2 separate regions of the Homo sapiens genome follow, and region 1 is linked to region 2. Evidence: promoter capture Hi-C in 16 types of primary human blood cells and fetal thymus (Javierre and others, 2016). All regions are on one chromosome and are shown on one strand. The core of a region is centred on a gene start or on the middle of the fragment in contact, and the rest is flanking DNA. Distances in the headings are between cores, read along the strand shown.

Region 1 (5,013 bases), core at 799-3,298, 2.6 Mb before region 2:
TACTTTCTGAAGAGTGATTATAAGTAAGTCTGCTGGTTTGCAAATTAAGCACATATTAAATATTCGAAACCATACACAGATCACCACACTTTGGGATTAAACAATGACCTTTTATGGCACAATCTGTCAGGTTTTCATTGAGATTAATACAATAACTTTCCCACACTCACTTGTATCATATCTACAGAATCTGGGGAGAGAGTTAAACCTGCTAAGTTTTGACAAGGGGGTGAAAGTTCATGCGCATTGCCTAGCACTATCACTGAGAATGCCTATATTTTCTGAAATATATATCTGAATTTGCTTTTGGGAAAAATCAAGTAATGAAATTAAATGACTTATTCTACACATACTAGCTTAATTTTGAAAAATGGACTCTTTCATAGAAAATTTTATTGCCTTTAAGTTTTAAGGATCTTTTGCTGAATACTGAGTACCTTACTGCCAAATTACTGAAATGAACTCTAAGGCATTGAAAATTGCTATGAAATTTATACCCATATGAAATGAAAACATAAAATTGACAGATAAAGACAATTTCCTATGTATCAACTAGACAAAATGCCTACTGTCCTAAGATTCAAGCTTAAAGTTCACATCTTAACAAATCAAACAAGACATAATACCAGCCAGGTGCAGTGGCTCACGCCTGCAATCCCAGCACTTTGGGAGGCTGATGTGGGAGGATCCCTTGAGGCCAGGAGTTCGAGGCTGCAGTGAGCTGTGATCATACCACTGCACTCCAGCCTGGGCAATACAGCAAGACACTGACTCAAAAAATAAATAAGTAAATATATAAAACAACAAAATATAAAACCAATTAGTGAAAATTTCTTACTTCTTAACCTGTGTTTCAGTAAGTGCTATACATTTTTATTTCATTTTATTTCTTTAATATAAAATATTTTAATACAAACATTAAAATTCTAGAATCATAACACTTACCTGTACGGCTTATCAGAGTTATGGATTCGCCTGTGGTTTCTGACACCAACATATGTTGTACTTGTATAATCACACACATCACATCTATATTGTTTCTGGACTGAAGACTTATTCCCTAGACAAGGTATTTCAGAGTTTTAGTAGCAGGCTTTGACAAGATTCAAATGACAGCATTTACATTCCATTGTAAATGAAAATTTATACCACACAGTTGTATTAATATTTCAATCACGGCTTTCTCACTGTTTTAACAAGTCTGAAGTGGTTTTATAGGTTTTCCTGCATATACACTATCAGCAGATATAAACTGAACATCATCTGACCTATAAACACAGATAGGTTGGGATGATTCCTGCATAACCATGTACAATATTCTAAGTCATAATGAACTTGCTTCTGGCTATGTAGGAGCTAAATTAATCAGAGACACCCTGTTGATCTGTATCACCAAATAGGTGTTACTCTAACCAATATTGGATATACTGTCTTACAGAAACACTGACTTGACAACAAGCTGTAATTTAATACTATACTCCAATATTATAAAGTGTGGCTATGAAGCATATATAACCAACTCAATATAAAAAGCCTGGCTAGGTGTGGTGGCTCATGCCCATAATCCTAGTACTCTGGGAGGCTGAGGTGGGAGGACTGCCGGAGGCCAGGAGCTGGAGACCAGCCTGGGCAACAGAGCAAGAGATCTCTCCCCCACTCTCACCCTACAAAAAAAAAGCCTAAGGCCTTTTCACCCAGTGCATTTTCTTTGTTTACCACTAAACGTCAGCTACCAACGCAACAAGAAAGGAAAAGCGGCCGCAAATTTTTAAGTGCTATGCAATGTATAATTCTTTCTAGTTAACTGACAGGTTACAGGGACAAAGGTTATGACTGACATGAATATGCAGCTCTCCGAAACGCAGGAGACATGGATCCAACGAAAAGTAGCCATGTTACTAAACTCACTCTGCAACAACAGGGCTGAGTAATTCAAGTTGGGGTAAGCTTATGTCAACACGAGTTGAGTGACTTGATCATATAAAACGATTTCTTGAAGATATTCAACGCTTCATGTACTTGTCTGTCAGCATACAGTCCACAGGCTATTCACACTCTGCTTTATATTCAGAAACAAAGCAAGCATGGAAGCTCATGAAAAAGGCAGAGCAGGAAGAACTGTGTGTCTCTTGGCAGGAAGAAAGCTTAGGTAGAACACCTGTATACACCGCATAAAAGTAAAATCCGTGGTATTATACAAAGGAAAACCCACACTGAAATTTCAACAAAGAAAATCCTTAAGTTAAATTTACGGTTTCTAAAATTGAAATTTTCTTTTGCTAATAACTACTGCCAAGCAGAACAAAATGTCCTAATTTCCTGGTATAAATCTATAACGTTAATATACACACTAATCATAATTATAATCTAAGTATTGCTCTTAATTGGTAGGTTAAAAACTTGGACTTGATTATAAATGGCACTGTTCCAAATACAGTTTTAAAAAAACCCTAAAAAATGAAGTGTGAAATATTGGATAATGGTTTTGTGTGAGAAATATTACAGATCAATGACAACTAATAAAACTGACAGATGGAAAAACTTAATATAGCACAGAATGAGAGCCTGTGCTACTTCAAGCAACTGTTTCCAATGGAAAGAATATTGGATTTAAAGTTCAAAAACTTGGGCTTAGTCCTCGCTCTGCCACTTTCTACCAGTATGATCATGGGTAAATTATTTTGCCTCTTGAAGTCTCAGTTTTCTCATCTACAAATTGGAAATGCTAGAACCTCACAGCATAGTTTAGTAAGTCCTATATTTTTCCTTTAGCAAAGTCTGTACTTTACCTGCATGTCTGGGTAAAATCTCTGCCCTGCCACTAAGCTGTCTATTCCCTGAGGATAAGGATCTGCTTGTTTTGTTTAGACTGAATCCCCAGCGCTTGGCAAATTATAGGTTTCCAATAAAAAACAATTTAATTAGGTTTCATGGAGTAACACCATACGAAAGGGCTTTGCTTGCGGCTCTATTTGAGCTCCTGCGGTATCTGCTGACATACCCATCAGCCTCGTTCTGTCTTCTTCACTGAGTTGGATTCCTGAAGGGCAGTGATGCCTTTCACTGTACTCCCAGCACCTAACACAGTATCTAGCTCAAGACAGGCAGGCCATGCCTTTTGGCCAAGCAAATGTTAAGCTGAAACATGCCCTAAGGTATCTGTGCTATCTGAATGGCAGAGACTGAGGATCACAGAGGCACAAATCTCTCTTCTTGTTTAACAAGTTTACTAAATAGGTAAAGAAGTTTTAACAAAGCATGAATTATTATTACCTTATTTGTGAGCTAAAAATTTTTTCTTTGGCCTGACAACCAGATTTCAAAATATCTAATATTGAGTTAATAAAGTACCCATCCAGGTATAAGTATGCAGCCATTTGAACTGCTACAGTACTGAGAGAAAAAAGCAAATGGAGCCAGGTGGAGGAAAAGAGGCATGGCAGGCAATTTAAAAATCCATGCATGTAACCCTAAAAAAAAAGCATGAGCCACAAAGAAAAGATGCTGCAACATAAAATCTAGTAAACATTCATTAATACTGTAAAGTCTGAAGTGGTTATTTTAATTTTGAGCTGACACTTTAATCTTTTTATTAAAATTGTGAATTTTAATGTTAACTCATTTGGACAGTTTGAAATGTTTGCTTTTTAGGACGGTGCTAAAAAAGACATCTTCCAACACTGATATTAACTGCAGGTGGTGCTACTGAGTAGTATTTACTTCATCCTTTCATTAGGGATTTATGGTCCAATCATATCAGACGTTTTAATGTCTCCTTTAAAGGGGATATGGAAACATAATGAATTAAAATAAAAGGAGGCATTTAGGGCTATTTTGTAAAAAGGAAACAAAACTGTTTTAGCTCAGCCATCTACTGCAAAAACAGATGCTATATCATAAACTCCTTTTGTTTCAGAGAGTTTTACAGGGATGACATCTGTTTGACATGAGAATTTTGGTGCTACAGTGGTGTCAAAATCAGTTCTTTCAGAAGCATTCTAGAATCAGTTATGCTTTCTGGGGTATAATTTAATGAAACATTATGGTAAAACATTTCACTCTGTAGTCGTTTCTAACTTTAATTCTTAGCAAATCTAAAAGGGAAAGTCACCCCAATATGTCTTATCTCCCATAAACATTATGTGCCACACTGGAGACATTTAAAGTATATCAATTTAAGTGAGCTGAACCAAAGCGGCACAGCTTAGTACACTTTATCCTTAATTCTCCGGATGTGGCATCCGCCTTTTCATGGAGCTCTAATTAAATCTTTTGATTCTAATATTCTTATTACCAGAAACTCGGTTGACTGCTACTTAACTAGTACATAAAAAGATCTTGTGTGTCTGTGTGTGTGCTTTTTTTTTTTTAATAATGCAGATGAAATCTGGCAGTCATACTTGGGTAAGAATAAGATCACAGCGGGGAGCCCCAGTTAAAGTTTGGGGTGGGGGCCTACCATCTGCAAAAGCTCTGTTCTCAGTAGGTCAACTGGTGCCGAGAGAGGGAGGGGAGGCCTGTTTTCCATGTTGTAGCTTTTCTGGCTTGCTTTTCTGGCTTGCTGGTACATCACCTTCTAAGGGGCTCTTAAGTTTCAACTGAAGATGAATCCTTACTATCTAGGGCTTCTCACCTAGGACCTAGTAATCATCTGCTTCATTCAGTACTTGGCATTTCCTCAGAAACAGAGATCAGATTCACTCACATCCATGGTACAAAAATGGAGGAGAATATAGGCTTTTGCCCTGAAAATAACCAACCATGACAACTAAGGGCACTTTTATGTCATGTGCAAGTCACTGCAGCCTGCATAACAAAATACATAGATACCTTCCTGGACACATTTTCCATCAGCTGTATCACTGGAAATTCTTGGCTCATTAGAAGTTGCTATTGACAAGGTATCTGGAAGACTGTGCTGTTCTCTCTCATGGTTCCTCAATTGACTCTAAAAAGTGGAAAGAAATATGTAATTTTCAATAAATATACATGTCCAACTCTTAGGAGGCTGTA
Region 2 (3,362 bases), core at 863-3,362:
AGGCACGGAGACGTGGAAGAACTTTCCCTAGGTCACTGTAAGCAGCATAAAGCATCGCTGTGTGCTGGGCCAGTGCCATTTCCGCGCCACCACCGAGACCCCACGGCACGCCTTGCTCACTGTGCAGGAGGCCGCAGTTGCCTTTAGGAGCATGAGGCACTGTGTGCTCCATCTCTGGGGTTCAGAGTGTGCGGTCATGTTATGCCTGCATTCGTATCAGAATGAGGCCCAGGAGGCTGATGGGTTGCAGATTTGCATGCAATGGCGCGATCTCGGCTCACTGCAACCTCCATCTGCCGGGTCCAAGCGGTTCTCCTGCCTCAACCTCCCGAGTAGCTGGGACTACAGGCTTGCACCAACCATGTCTGGCTCATTTTTCCATGTTTAGTGGAGATGGGGTTTCACCATGTTGCCCAGGCTGGTCTCAAAGTCCTGGCCTCAGGTGATCTGCCCGCCTCGGCCTCCCAAAGTGCTGGGATTACAGGTGTGAGCCACCGCGCTGGGCTGCATGAACCTCTTACATGCTTGCCTTCTCTGGAGGGCCTGGACTTTGAAGCTTCTTTCACTCCCAGCATCTTTCCCTACACAGGCCCTCTTCCCCACTATCTCTGGGGGAGGAGTCTGCAGGCCAGTTCTGCAATGTGCCGCCAGAGGGAGCTGCCCGCAGAGAAACGGGAGCGCCACACTCAGGCCCCAGGAAGGCAGCAAGCTGAGTTCCCCTGGCCTCAGTTCACTTTCCCTCTTGAAAGTCACCCAAACTCAAGCAAAAGCTCCGATTCAGGAATAAATGGGGTTGTTTTATCCCAGCCAAGGCCTGGGGAAGCTTGGTATTAAGAGCGTTTGTTCCATTCTTTTAAAAATGGAAAAGGGTCCGTCCTCTGGGTGCCCATGGCACCCTGGAAAGCAGGCAGAGTGCTGGTCACAGGCGGAGACTTTGAGATACCGAGACCGAGGCTGGAGTTTGGGCCCTGAAACTTTCTAACCAGGATGGCCTTGGGCAGAGCAGCCTGTGTTTAGAGCTTCCCATCTGTAATATAGCAGTGACAACCATGCCTGCTTTGCAGGGTTCCTGTTAGGATTAATTCTCTATAGAGCCCCCCAGAAGCCACTTTTGGATTTGAGATGGTTCAAGGCCAGACCTTGCATGACAAGAGTAGGGACAGCTTTCCACAGGCCTCAATAAAGTAGTATTCCCAGGCAGTTCTGCAACCCCAGCCTCATGCCCTTTGCACCTTCCTAAGAGGCTGCCTTGCCTCAGCTTTGGTCCCCATCCAAGACTCCTAAGAGCAAAGCCAGTTCTTTTCCTTTTTTTTCTTTCTTTAAGAGACGGTCTCACTCTGTCACCCAGGTTGAAGTGCAGTGGTGGGATCATAGTTCACTGCAGCCTCGAACTCCTGGGCTCAAGCAATCCTCCCGCTTCAGCCTCCCAAAATGCTGTAGGTCACAGGTATGACTCACCCACCCGGCCTAATTTTTATTATTATTTGTAGAGATGGGATGTCACTGTGTTGCCCACGCTCGAACTGCTGGGCTCAAGCAATCCTCCCTCCTCAGCCTCACTGGCAGCTGGGATTACGAGTCCCACCCAACCTGCTTCTCCTTTTGCAACCCCCAGACCCAGAGGCTCCAGAGCAGGCTCTGGAACAGAGGAAATCTGGCTCCGGCCCACACATTCACCAAATACTGACGCAGCACCCTTGACCTCCAGATGCCCCTGTGCTCTCTTCTGTGCCCAGGCTGCGGGGAGAGAGGGGTCCTCCAGGCCAAAGGGAGGGAGGTCTCCGGGAGGTCCCCGCGGTCCTGGAGGCAGGTGCGCGGGGCCCGGATGTGATCATGCGTGCGCGTGGGAGAAAGGCAGGGCTGGGCCTGCGGGAGCGCGGCCTTGCGGTTCCCAGGACTCTTCTCCGGGCGCCTCGTCTCCTTACGCCACCCGCAACCCAAGCCAGGGCCCCGGTGACAGCGGCGGGGTGGGCCAGGACCGGGGAGGGGGTGCCCAGCAGCGACCCCCGGCTCCCCCTAAGGCCGGGCGCAGCTCGGAGCCAGGAGCTGGCCCGGCGCGTGGCTTCCCGGAAGGCCCGGCGCAGCCGGAAGGTGGGACGGAGGGCGGGGCCAGCGCCGGGGCCGCCACCAAGGCCTGCGCGACCCTCCGCGGGGCTGGGGAGCTGGGCGGGGAGCCCGGGGCCTGCCAGGCCCGGGCTGCAGCCGCGTCTGATCGCCGAGCGCGCCGCGTAGACCTCCGCTCCCCCAGGTAAAGGAGCGCCCGGAGCCGGGGCGGGGCGCCTCCCAGGCCGCGCCCCGCGAGAGGAGGGGGCACCCCAAGAGCAGGCCTGGAGACCCGGGAGTGCCTTGGGGAGAGGGTCCCCGCCCTGCCGGGAGCCCGGCCCTCCCGGTGCCGGGGTGGACACTGTTAGTGTAGTCATTGTCCCTATGGAGAAACTGAGGCATGGAGAGGCTGAAGTCACACAAGTAAGCAGCAGAGCTGGGACTAGAGTCCCGGGCCCTGGCTCGCTGTCACCCAGGAGTGGCGTAGGCATGGGTGTGGTGGGTGGGGGTGGGGTGCGGGTGGTGGATGTGGTGGGAGTGGGTGAGGTTGGGTGGGGTGGGGATGTGGGTTTGGCGGGGGTGGGGTGCGGAATGTGATGGGTAGGGGTGGGGTAGAGTGGGGGTGGCTGGTGGGGCAGGGGCGGGGCTGGGGGTGGGGTGCTAGGTATTATAAATGTGAAGCGGATCCTGACAGGACACCTGTGGGGCAGCGGAGCTGGGCTGAGCCATATGGGAAGAAAATCTGGGCGCTAGTTTAGATTTGGTCAGGAAGGGTCGTTAATGCTTTAGGAGGTGAGATTAGTTTTGGGGATGGCAGGTAGTTTGTTGAGCTTTTGTTTAGACAGTCTTGCTCTGTTGTCCAGGCTGGAGTGCAATGGCGCGATCTCGGCTCACTGCAACCTCCACCTCCCTCGTTCAAGCAATTCCCCTGCCTCAGCCTCCCTAGTAGCTGGGATTACAGGCGACACCACCAAGCCTGGCTAATTTTTTTGTATTTTTAGTAGAGACGGAGTTTCACCATATCGGCCAGGCTAATCTCAAACTCCTGACCTTGCGATCCACCTGCCTCAGCCTTCTGCAATGCTGGGATTACAGACGTGAGCCACCCCGACCAATTTTTGTATTTTTTAGTAGAGACGGGGTTTCACCATCTTGGAATAGCACCTGTAGTTCCAGCTACTCGGGAGGCCGAGGCGGAAGAATTGCTTGAGGCCAGTTCCCGACCAGCCTAGGCAACACAGGGAGACTGCGTTTCTGGAAAAAACAACAACAACACCAGCAACAACAAAAAGCAGGAAGGAAGGGGAGAGGGAAAGAGA

The links. The method cuts DNA at HindIII sites, captures the fragments that hold promoters and counts their contacts. A CHiCAGO score of 5 or more calls a contact.
Region 1: a fragment that was not itself captured here is called in contact with the fragment with the promoter of C19orf12 in region 2 in 1 of 17 cell types (total CD8 T cells); the score reaches 7.1 in total CD8 T cells.

Annotation. Positions count from the first base shown.
Region 1 is chr19:32,356,551-32,361,563 of GRCh38, reverse strand. It overlaps ZNF507 (zinc finger protein 507), which reads right to left. Exons shown (of 7, transcript NM_001136156.2): 4 at 4,831-4,948; 5 at 946-1,060. Among named protein-coding and RNA genes, the nearest start is that of ZNF507, 13 kb to the right of the region's middle. The HindIII fragment of the contact is 197 bases long and covers 1,950-2,146 here.
Region 2 is chr19:29,714,011-29,717,372 of GRCh38, reverse strand. It overlaps C19orf12 (chromosome 19 open reading frame 12), which reads left to right and starts at 2,112. Exons shown (of 3, transcript NM_031448.6): 1 at 2,112-2,248. RefSeq lists enhancers at 753-972, 1,518-1,617 and a silencer at 1,788-2,577. The HindIII fragment of the contact is 2,629 bases long and covers 826-3,362 here.